Regions from separate parts of the Homo sapiens genome. Here all the other regions are linked to region 3. The links are contacts of gene promoters, found by promoter capture Hi-C in human tissues and cell types (Jung and others, 2019). All regions are on one chromosome and are shown on one strand. The core of a region is centred on a gene start or on the middle of the fragment in contact, and the rest is flanking DNA. Distances in the headings are between cores, read along the strand shown. Region 1 holds the start of KCNJ14 (potassium inwardly rectifying channel subfamily J member 14). Region 2 holds the start of SCAF1 (SR-related CTD associated factor 1). Region 3 holds the start of LIN7B (lin-7 cell polarity scaffold B). Region 4 holds the start of TSKS (testis specific serine kinase substrate).

Region 1 (2,700 bases), core at 78-2,577, 660 kb after region 3:
CCTGGGGAAGACAGCAAAACCCTGTCTCTAAAAAATAAATAAATAATTAAAAATAAAAAATAAAGGAAGAAAAGAAATGGAGGGAATCGCAGCAGCCTGTCAGGGTGGACCAAAGGAAAGGGCTGGGCATGGACCCGCACCCCTCATTGCCTTCAGGGTTCACTGCAACGTTACCAAACGCTTGGCCCTGTGGTGGGGAACTTCCCAGGAACTGGCTGGATCAGGACAAACCATTCCAGGGGTTAAATAATTTGTGCTGGAACCTGGGGATCCTCAGGGGCTTCTTGGCAGGGCCTGGCACACTCCATTTGGAAAGAAGACCATGAGACAATGTCAAGTTTGGCACCAACTGGGTCTCCCAAAGCCCTGCACCTGCTTCCCACAACCACGCAGGCAGCCTGGCCATTCGCGAGGGTTCATTAGGCCCACTTGACAGAGGCAAGGCTGAGGTGAGGGGACCAGCCTGGCTGTGTCCAGTGCCCACAGTGTACCCCAACCTTGACTCTATCTCACCCCTGACAACCCTGCATGTTAGAGACTGTTCTCCCAAAAAGGGGAAATAGGCTCGTTGCCCAAGGGGGCGGCCTGGAGGTCAACATCAGGATGCAGCATCTACACCTGCAGCCCTCCCCAGCCTGGGGATCCCCACTCAGCACTGACTCCACCCTCAGGAACCACCCCCGTGGGCTGGGGGGGCAGGTGGGCACTGACACTGACCTGTGCTCCCCAGGCCCCAGCCTGGGCCTCTCACCCCCACTTGCCCATCTCTCACCAAAGCCCTTTGATGAAGGGACCTGGCTTTTCACAGAAAAGCCAACTGGGGCTGAGGTTAGTCCCTTGTCGCAGGTCTCTCAGCCAGTGGGGAGAGGAGTGGCAAAAGCTAGCCTCCCACCCAGGCCTCCTGGGAGCCACGGCCCGAGTGACAAACCACAGTCTTCTCAAGAGCACTCTGGTTTCAAACACACCTGGTATGTACGAGGCCTCGTGATGAGCTCCCGACATGCCCACAGCCCCCACTGGACTCTCAGACCCCACTGCTCACCTTGGCCGCTCAGGATGCCGGGAGGTGAAGATCATCACCCCCTTTCACAGTTGGGGAACAGGCTCAGGGAACGCCATGAGCTGGCCAGGCCCCCGCAGTGCCAGGGGGAATGCTGGTTGGGTCCTAAGCCTTTCTTTCCTTCCCAGAGTTCTGCCCTCGAAATCCTCCAGTCCCACCTCAGCCCCGTGAGGCAGACCCGTTGTCTACTTCCCAAAGCCAACGGGAACCTTCACCAGGGGGCCATCTGCGGCCAACATGGCCCAGCTCCCAGGCTGGCTGCGACTCAGGCTCAGGGCACCCCCCTCCCCTAGCAAAAGCAGGGCGGGAGGGAAAGGGATCCTCCACCTGACCTGCGAGAGCAGCTTAATGTTTCCATATAAAGGAGATACAGGGCTTAAGGTGCTTCAACTTCGTGTCAAAGTCACTGTCTAATCTGAGGCCAAGAAGCCCCGCCCCCAGGCCCCACCCTCACCCTCCCAAATCAACACTCTCACTCTTCCGAAACCAGGGGTGTTCCCCACCACTCCCCACCTACTGGTGGGGGCTGGACAGCAGGTTGGAAAGCAGAGACTACAGAAAGACAAAGAGATGCAGAGATAGGCAGGAGGAGGGGTGTTGAGAGGGTGCCCCAAGAAAAAGTACAGGGACCAAGCAGGACAGGGACCCTGAGAGAGAGGGGGACAGAGACCCAGAGAGGGCAGCAGGAAAGGGACATTGATCCAGAGAGAAAGGGACAGAGACCTTGAGAGAGGACAGAGACCCAGAGAGAGGGGAACAGAGACCTTGAGAGGATAGAGACTCAGAGACAGAGGGGGACAGAGACCCAGAGAGAGGGGGGGACAGAGACCTAGATGGAGGGGGACAGAGAAGATAGAGGCGGACAGGGCAATTGGGAAAACGAAAAGGAGAAAAGAAATGTTTTAAGAAATGGCGACATGGGGAGATGAAATTGTGAAGACAGAGAGAGGCAGAGAGAGATGGGAGAGACAGAGATGGGGGAGAGAGACAGAGACAGAGACAGACAGACTGAGAGGGTTTCTCTGAAAGGATGGAAGCCAGTGAGAAAATGCATAAAATGGGGATGGGGTGAGAGTTGGAGGCACTGAACCTGGGGGTGGATTCTCCTGGCGCTGAGCCTGTCACTGATGGGAAGACAAGGCCTTCTTGAAGGGGACAAGCTGAGGACAGGGATGCTGGGGCAGGGGTGGATGGGGGCGACGCAGCAGAGCAGGAGGGGATGGCTCAGCGGTGCCTTGCATGGAGGCACGTACCTGTTGGGGCGGCCCACCCCCATGCCCTCCGCTGGGGGCTCCTCGGCTAGGGCTGAGGGGAAGCCTCTGTGGGTGCTGAGGGGCTGTAGTCTGTCCTTGGTCCCAGGGGCCGTGTGACGGGCACCCGACCTCGGAGTCCACAGATGGATCAGAGGCTGGATGGAGGGGGGCCGGGGGTGGGGCTAGCTCAGAGCCGCAGAGGGGGAGCCAGGGAGGCCAGCCAGGCAGAGCGGCTGGGCCACAGCCCAGGCAGGCTGGACAGGAGACAGCGGCGGAGGAGCGAGACAGCGACTAGGGGGCAGGGAGACTGGCAGTGGGGGACGGGAGACTCTGAAAGAGGGGGACACAGAGAAGAAAGAAAGAAACGTGATAAAGGGGAGATGGACG
Region 2 (2,700 bases), core at 122-2,621, 530 kb before region 3:
GACACACCCTCAGCTACTGAGATCTTCTGAACAGAAGAATGCTCTGCAGATACTGCTAGGTCCTATCTGGATCAGTGGTTTCCCCAACAACAGGGTCATATACCAGTTTAGTGCTTCACAAATAGCTTGTTTTAAAAAGTAAATAGAACAAAATAGTTCTTCACAGCACAGCACAAGTAGTAAGTGGAAATGTCAATTCGTGGAAGGTGAGTTAATGTTAATACATTATGTTATATAATGTTAAATACATTATGACTGTCTGTACCAGGTCTCAATGAAAAAATGTATCTTAATGCAGATCACGGTCAACATGGCCCAGGTTTCCCCTTGAAAAGCACTGTAATAGTGGGTCTAGATGACCCTCCAGACTCTTCCAGACTAATGTAGATTAATTCTAACTCTCTCAATAACCCCCAGGGTAATGCAGAATCTTAAAACATTTTTCATTTGAATTACTGTCTGAAGGGCAAGTATATCTAAGCTGGGCAAAATTTCCTCATTCTCTTTCCGTATTATTATTCGCCACAAGCTGCTCTGACCCCAAAGGCATTCGAATTTGCTCCAGGCATCAAAACTGCATTCCTGCAGTCACATTAAAGCCATCTAGATGGTTCCAGGTCCTTCTAACTGCCCCCAGCCTCCTGTCACCCATTATTAGACACTACCCATACCTTGGAGACCCCAGACCCTCAGTACATCTCAATATTTGGCGCCCTTCCCTGGTGGGCATAACCCAACCCCCTAGGGGGCCCTAAATGACTTCTTAGCCCTTGAACACTCCTTCTAGGCCTGATAAATGGCCCCAGACTTATGCAGACCAGTTGCATCCTCAGGCCAGCCCATGCAGACACTTTCCAGCCCTAAAAGACATACCCCAGGCCTCTAGATGGCTCTGAAGATACTCTTCAGGTCTTGCAGACCCTCCTTCACCCCTGGGACATATCTCAAGATCTCAAGATGGCCCCAGAACCCTCTAACCAGACCCTAGCCTCCGGTCAGCCCAAAAAGACAATCTACAGTGTCTACAGACACGATCCAGGCCAGCTGTGTGATGGAGGGCAGGCCTTAGGCTCGGTCTAGGCCCAGAGACGCCCCAAGTCCTCTCGGAGACGCCCCATAGACGCCCCCAGGAACCCACGGATGCGTCCCGGGGCCCTGAGAAGGCCCCCCTCTCGGCGCCAGGTTTCGCCGCAGCTGCCGGGCCCGAGACCGCCCCGAGAAGCCCTCTAGGACCCGTGGCTTGTGGGGAGGACCCCGGGACAACTAGCGACCCAACTCCGCCCCGCCCACCCCAATAGGCCCGAGCCCCGCGGCCCGGACTGCCGCCGCCATCTTACCCCGCCGCTCGGGCTGCGGCTCCGGCCCCGGCGCGGGGCGGGGCGGGCTGGGGCGGGGTTCGTGAGCAAAGGAGGAGAGAGGCGGAGCTAAAGCGCCGCCGAGCTTGCCGGGATTTCAAGTACCGAGCACGGCGACGTGAAGGCCGGCGGGAAGGCAACCGCACTCGGTTTCCCAGAAGCCAATGGGACACATGGGGCGGGGTCCGCGCGATGCACGCCGGGAGGCGTAGTCCGCGCACCGCCTCTGTCGCGCGGGGACAGCTAATGGGGTGAGAGGTGAAGTGGGCGGGGCCGCGGTAGCCCGCGATGACGCCCCACAGTGCCCTGCGCGCGCGCGGAAAGGGTGGCGGAACAGGAGGTGACGTAAGAGGCGCCAGGCAGAACAGACGCAAGGGAATTGTAGTCCGGCGGAGTGAGCACGACTTGCTGGATGTTGTGCTGCCCACATTCTGGGGCTCTCAGAATCCAGATCCTCTAGGCCCCCCTAAATTTAGAACCAGACGGGATGCAGTGGCGCACACCGTAGTCCCACTCGGGAGACTGAGGCGGAAGGATGGCTTGAGCCTAGAAGTTAGAAGCCAGCCTAGGCAATATAGGGAGACCCCGCCTCTAAAAAAATAAAAATAGGCCAGGCGCGGTGGCTCACGTCTGTAATCCCAGCACTTTGGGAGGCCGAAGCAGGCGGATCATCTGATATCAGGAGTTCAAGACCAGCCTGACCAACATGGTGAAACCCAGTCTCTACTAAAAATACAAAAATTAGCCTGGCGTGGTGGCTAACGCCTGTAATCCCAGCTACTCGGGAGGCTGAGGTAGGAGAATCGCTTGAACCCGGGAAGCGGAGGTTGCAGTGGGCCAAGATCGCGCCATTGCACTCCAGCATGGGCTACAAGACGGAAACTCCGTCTCAAAAATAAACAAATAAAAATAAACTTAGAACCTAGAAGCCCGACCCCATAGCCGCCTCGTTCAGTACAGAGAAGTCTGAATTCCGAATCCTCTCACTCAGAGCAGTGTCCAGACTCCTATTTCCCTCCTCCCTCCGACTCAGGAGTCTGATTCTTCCTTCCTCGGATCCAAGAGTCGGTCTCCCAGACTAGTCCTGGTCTCAAGCTCTCACATACGAATTCGGGTCCCCCCAAGCCAGTGCCCTCGCTCGGATCCAGAATCCTGGGTCCCCAGCCTCTCCAATTCCTGGACCTAAGAGTCCAGGCCCCCGGCTCCCTCCTTTACCGAACCTAGTACGAAGGAACCTGTCTACCTTCCTCCCTGACACCCTCCTCCCCAGGACCCAGGAGTCCACATCTCCAGCCCCATTTTCTCCTAAGGACCCAGGAGTCTGGGCCCTCTGCTTCCTTCTCCT
Region 3 (2,700 bases), core at 1-2,500:
CTATTGTGCAGTGAGAGGTCAGAGCGCCATGAGTTTCCTGGTTTGCACTGTACAGATGTTGAAGGTTATCTTCTACCAACCATGCCATACTGTTTCCATTTGCAGTTGCTAAAGATGCCTTAGTATGACATTTAAGTTAAAAATGTGCGATTATTTACTAATAGTAAGGTGGCACATAGATTTAGCAAAAATCATGAGGGAGGAAACAGAAATGACTGGCATGAAGGAGATATTGAGTTCGACTAGGCAGTTAAATAGACACCAGGAGCAATGGGGTGCGGGGCCCACCTTGGCTGTGGCATGGGCTCGGATCTCGGCGCTGCCGGTGATGTCCAGCGTGTCATAAAGCTGCTCATACACCTGGGTGAGGAGGCAGCGGCATCAGGGAGTCGCCAGCTCCTCCAGCCCTAGACGCAGGAGTTCAGGCCTCTAGACCCTCTCCCGCTACCACGCAAGGATCCGCCCCGCCCCCGCAACAGAAGGCCGAGAAAACTACAACTCCCGAAGAACCCCTGAGCTGAAGCGTTGGCACCCCAAGGCGGGCCGCCTCGGGAGCTGCCGGGAGGCGTAGTCTCCGGGCTCGGGACAAGCAGGAGGAGGAGGAGGAGGACGACGGCCACCAGCTCGCGCCCCTGCGCCGCGCGCCCCTCACCTCTCGGATAGCGGAGCAGAAGCGGCTCTGCAGAACTCGCTGGAGGGCCTGCAGCTTCTGCGGCGGCAGCTCCCCGCTGCGCTGGAGCCGCTCGAGGAGCTCAACCGCCCGGGACACGTCTGCGGGGCGGGGGCGGGGCGCAGAAACCCCGAGTGTCAGAGACCCCGAGACGCAGAGAAGCAAGGAGAGCGGCGGAGTGAGGCCGAGCGCACAGTCCGGGGAGGACGGCCGAAGCCTAGTCGGACACCCCGCAGAGTCCAGGGTGGCGCAGGAGAGACTGCCACCAGCGGCCCTGCGGCCCCGGGACCCCTCCACAGGCCGGGTTGTAAGGCGGGCGCCCAGCGTCCCGGCCCGCGCCCAGGGAGCCTCCCACACCTAGCGACCGCCCGGCCCCGGCGCCCGCCCCGCCCACCCCCTCCGGGTCCGCTGGCCCACCCGCACTGGCCTGACCCGGGAAGGGCGGGGACCGGGGGCTGGGTATGTAGGCCGCGGCCCGGGTGGGCAGGGCCCCCTGGCGCACGCTTACCCCGCTCCAGCCCCAGCGGCTCCACCAGCGCAGCCATGTCGGCGCCACAGCTGCCAGCCGCCCGCCTGCCCTGGCGCCGGCGAGGAGGGCGGGGCTGCGCGAGGCCACGCCCCGGGCCACGGGCGCCCCCTGCGGAGGCGCAGCCTGGAGAGCGCCCAGCTCTCCCTCGCCCGACTGCTCCGACCACCTGCCGCGCGCCAGCCGCGCCCTGCCCTCCGCCCCGGCCAGTCGGTCCTGTTGGCGACCCCTCCCACTGCAGGTTCGGTCTGTGTGTACCTTTCAGGATCCGTGTCTGCCTGCCCTCCACACCCGTCTATCCCCTGTCCATCCTTTCCCCACATTCATTCAACAAACTCTTGTGAAACATCTGAGCCCAAGTCATGGACACCGTGGTGAGCAGGACAGCCAAGCCCACGGCCCGAACGAAGCTTCCAGTCTATAGGGGAGGTAGACGACCAACTACGGCTGTGATGAGAGCTGAGAGTGGGGAGGTGATGATCTAGAAAACGAAGGAAATCCTAGAGGAGGGACATTGACATACAGTCCTGGGAGGTAAGATGAACAAGAGGTGGAGCTTGGGTCACCCCCACCACCCAGAAAGAGCCCACGTGGCTGGAAGCAGAGTTAGGATTGGTTGATGATGAGGTGAAAAGGTCGGCAGGATAGTTTATGCCTGGGCTCCTGCGTTGGCATATGCGCCTTGAGGATTTGGGGCTTCATGCAAACTCCTAAGAGAAAAATATGACACTCAAATTTGTATTATTATTATATTATTATTATTATTATTTTTGAGACGGAGCCTCGCTCTGTCGCCCAGGTTGGGCCTCAAATTTGTATTTTAAGATCACTGGGGCCGGGCACGGTGGCTCACACCTGTAATCCTAGCGCTTTGGGAGGCTGCAGCAAGACTACTTGAGCCCAGGAGTTCAAGACCAGCATAGGCAATATAGTGAGACCTCGTATCTATTGAAAAAAAAAAAATCACTGTAGCCACTGTGGAGACTGGTTTGGACAAGAACAAGAGGAGAAGCAGCGGGGCAACTTACGAGGCTACCACAGCCATCCAGGTGGCAGCTAGCACCAGGGCCAAAGCACAGAAGATGGGTGGGCAGATGTGGGAAATGTCTAGACAAGCCTTGGTGCTTGGCTATATAAGGGGATTGGGAGGTGCAGGAGAAGACAGTATTAAGGTGCTTTGGTGCCATTTTTAAGATGGTCTACACTGAAAGAGGGATACTGGATATTTTGTTTTTGAGACACAGTCTTCCCTCTGTTGCCCAGTCTCGAGTGCAGTGGCGTGATCTCGGCTCATTGCAACCTCTGCCTCCCGGGTGCAAGCAATTCTCCTGCCTCAGCCTCCTGAGTAGCTGAGAGTACAGGTGTGCACCTCCACACCTGCCAAATTTTTGTATTTTTCATAGAGATGGGGTTTCACCATGATGGCCAGGCTGGTCTCGAACTCCTGACCTCAAGTGATCCACCTGCCTCAGCCTCCCAAAGTGCTGGGATTACAGGCGCGAGC
Region 4 (2,700 bases), core at 201-2,700, 650 kb before region 3:
CAGGAAGAAGTACTTTCTCCCTGGGGATAACAGCATTTAAAATGTCTATTAGCAGTGATGTTTGAACTAGTCTTTTTGAGAAGTGTGAAGAGAACAGGAAAAGTCTGTCCCTAAATAGCAGGGCAGTGCTCGCTTCGACAGCACATGTATTAACATTGGAACGATACAGAGAAGATTAGCATGGGCCCTGCGCAAAGACCACATGCAAATTTGTGACATGTTCCATATATTTTTTAAATACTTTGGGCGGGCGGGGCGCAGTGGCTCACACCTGTAATTCCAATGCTTTGGGAGGCTGAAGTGGGCAGATCACGAGGTCAGGAGTTGGAGACTAGCCTAGCCAACACAGTGAAACCCTGTCTCTACTAAAAATACAAAAAAAAAATTAGATGGGTGTGGTGGCAGGTACCTGTAGTCCCAGCTACTCAGGAGGCTGAGGCAGGAGAATCGCTTGAAACTGGGAGGTAGAGGTTGCAATGAGCCAAGATCACGCCACTGCACTCCAGCCTGGGTGTCAGAGCGAGACTCCATCTAAAAAAAAAAAAAAAAAATTATAGCGGAGCATGGTGGCTCATGTCTGTAATCCCACACTTTGGGAGGCTAAGGCGGGTGGACCATTTGAGGTCGGGAGTTTGAGACCAACTTGGCCAACATGGTGAAACCCGTCTCTACTAAAAATACAAAAATTAGCCGGACATTGTGGCCAGCGCCTGTAGTCCCAGCTACTGGGGAGGCTGAGGCAGGAGAATCGGTTGAACCCCGGGAGGTGGAGGTTGCAATGAGCTGAGATCGCGCCACTGAACTCCAGCCTCCATGACAGAGAGAGACTCTGTCTCAAAAAAAATAAAAAGTATTAAAGAAAATAATAAATAAATAAACGGGGGAGGGGGATACCACCCTCTGTCCTGCCCCAACTCTCTACCTTCCTCTCCTCCCTCACCTTCTACCCTGACCCCGAGGCCCACCGCACCTAGCTTTCTTTTGTTGATCTACCTGTATATTGCCTTTCCCCCGACCCCGACGCCCCATAGAATATGAGACCCTCCAGGTCAGGGTCTGGATCTCAGCCCTCTTCGACCACAGTCTCTCAAACCCCAGCCAATTGTCAAATCCAGGAAGCTACATGAAGAATCAAGAACAAGTGCACAGGGCTGTGTGACCCCACGCTTAGTCTCAGGGAGAGGGAAGTTGGACCTCTCCCAAGAATCCGTGGGCCGACCCATTGTTAAGTTACAGGCTAGCATGAATCCATCCACTGGAGCTCTGAAGACGGGGGGCACATTGGGCATGTAACTAGAATCCTGAACAGGAGGAGTCCACTGAGAACCCTAGGGGAATGACCTGGGCCAGCATCTCTCCCTACCCTGTGCCCCCCACTCACTGGGGCCCAGTGGTTGGGTCCTTTGTGAGGCAGGCTGAGGGGACAGTGGATCCTGAGGGTCTGTGGTCACAGTAGGTAGGAAGTCTCAGAGGAAGGAGCCCCTCCCTGGGAGCCAGACCCCCACACCATGGCGAGCGTGGTGGTGAAGACGATCTGGCAGTCCAAAGAGATCCATGAGGCCGGGGACACCCCCACGGGGGTGGAGAGCTGCTCCCAGCTAGTCCCAGAGGCTCCCCGGAGGGTGACCAGCCGGGCCAAGGGGATCCCGAAGAAAAAGAAGGCCGTGTCGTTCCACGGGTGGGTTTGTTGCACACTGTCAGGGATGGTTCTAATGCCCAGCACTACCTCCAACAGAGCAGGAGTCCGACTGTGGGTGCTAGAGGAAGGGGAGGGGGAAAAGCCAGCAGGTCGGGGGCAGGAAAGAGGGCAGCAGTGAAGAGACATCAAGTCACAGGGAGGTAGAGAGGAAGAAGGTAATGGGGATGGATGGAGGGAGGAAGAAGGTAATGGGGATGGATGGAGAGAGGAAAAAGCCAGTGGGGAGGGAAGAAGGAGAAGGGAGGCTAGTGAATGAAGAAGAAAGTAGGTGGCAGAGAAGGGAGGAGAAAGTAGGCAGCGGGGAAGGAGAAGAAGAAAGTAGACAGTGGTGGTCGGGCACGGTGGCTCACGCCTGTAATCCCAGCACTTTGGGAGGCCGAGGCAGGTGGATCATGAGGTCAGGAGTTCAAAACCAGCTTGGCCAACATGGTGAAAAGCCATCTCTACTAAAAATACTAAAATTAGCTGGGCGTGATGGCACATGCCTATAACCCCAGCTACTCAGGAGGCTGAGGCAGGAGAATTGCTTGAACTGGGACCCGCAGTCGGAGGTTGCAGTGAGCTGAGATCGCGCCACTGCACTCCAGCCTGGGCAACAGAGTGAGACTCTGTCTCAAAAAAAAAAAAAAAAGAAAGAAAGAAAAAAGAAAGAAAGTAGGCAGCACAGGGAAGGAGAATAAAGTAGGCAGCGGGGACAGAGAAGGGAGAAACTTATATACAGTGAGGGTGGAGTCACAGGGGGTGAGGTATGGAGAAAGGAAGGCAGGAGGGCCCAGACACCCTGGGGCTGCTTCTCCACTTTTCTGCCTGTTTCTTCTCTGCAGGGTGGAGCCCCAGATGTCCCATCAGCCCATGCACTGGTGCCTGAACCTCAAACGGTCCTCGGCCTGCACCAACGTGTCACTGCTCAACCTGGCCGCCATGGAGCCCACTGACTCCACGGGGACAGACTCCACAGTGGAAGACCTCAGCGGCCAACTCACACTGGCTGGGCCCCCTGC

The links. The method cuts DNA at HindIII sites, captures the fragments that hold promoters and counts their contacts. A contact is called where the count stands out against the background at its distance.
Region 1: a contact is called between the fragment with the promoter of KCNJ14 here and the fragment with the promoter of LIN7B in region 3, in 1 of the 25 tissues and cell types used here (stomach).
Region 2: a contact is called between the fragment with the promoter of SCAF1 here and the fragment with the promoter of LIN7B in region 3, in 1 of the 25 tissues and cell types used here (dorsolateral prefrontal cortex).
Region 4: a contact is called between the fragment with the promoter of TSKS here and the fragment with the promoter of LIN7B in region 3, in 1 of the 25 tissues and cell types used here (liver).

Annotation. Positions count from the first base shown.
Region 1 is chr19:48,454,201-48,456,900 of GRCh38, reverse strand. KCNJ14 (potassium inwardly rectifying channel subfamily J member 14) reads right to left here and starts at 1,327. Exons shown (of 3, transcript NM_013348.4): 1 at 1,043-1,327. GRWD1 (glutamate rich WD repeat containing 1) reads right to left here. Exons shown (of 7, transcript NM_031485.4): 7 at 1-2,700. The HindIII fragment of the contact is 6,064 bases long and covers 1-1,564 here.
Region 2 is chr19:49,640,880-49,643,579 of GRCh38, reverse strand. It overlaps SCAF1 (SR-related CTD associated factor 1), which reads right to left and starts at 1,371. Exons shown (of 11, transcript NM_021228.3): 1 at 1,338-1,371. RefSeq lists a silencer at 1,161-1,450 and enhancers at 1,481-1,830, 1,941-2,040, 1,581-2,250, 2,251-2,700. The HindIII fragment of the contact is 1,761 bases long and covers 1-1,425 here.
Region 3 is chr19:49,112,920-49,115,619 of GRCh38, reverse strand. It overlaps LIN7B (lin-7 cell polarity scaffold B), which reads right to left and starts at 1,250. Exons shown (of 6, transcript NM_022165.3): 1 at 1,179-1,250; 2 at 653-771; 3 at 289-360. The coding sequence starts at 1,215. RefSeq lists a silencer at 851-1,430. The HindIII fragment of the contact is 18,984 bases long and covers 1-2,700 here.
Region 4 is chr19:49,762,056-49,764,755 of GRCh38, reverse strand. It overlaps TSKS (testis specific serine kinase substrate), which reads left to right and starts at 1,450. Exons shown (of 11, transcript NM_021733.2): 1 at 1,450-1,678; 2 at 2,524-2,700. The coding sequence starts at 1,509. It also overlaps the pseudogene RNU6-841P. RefSeq lists an enhancer at 2,697-2,700. The HindIII fragment of the contact is 39,317 bases long and covers 1-2,700 here.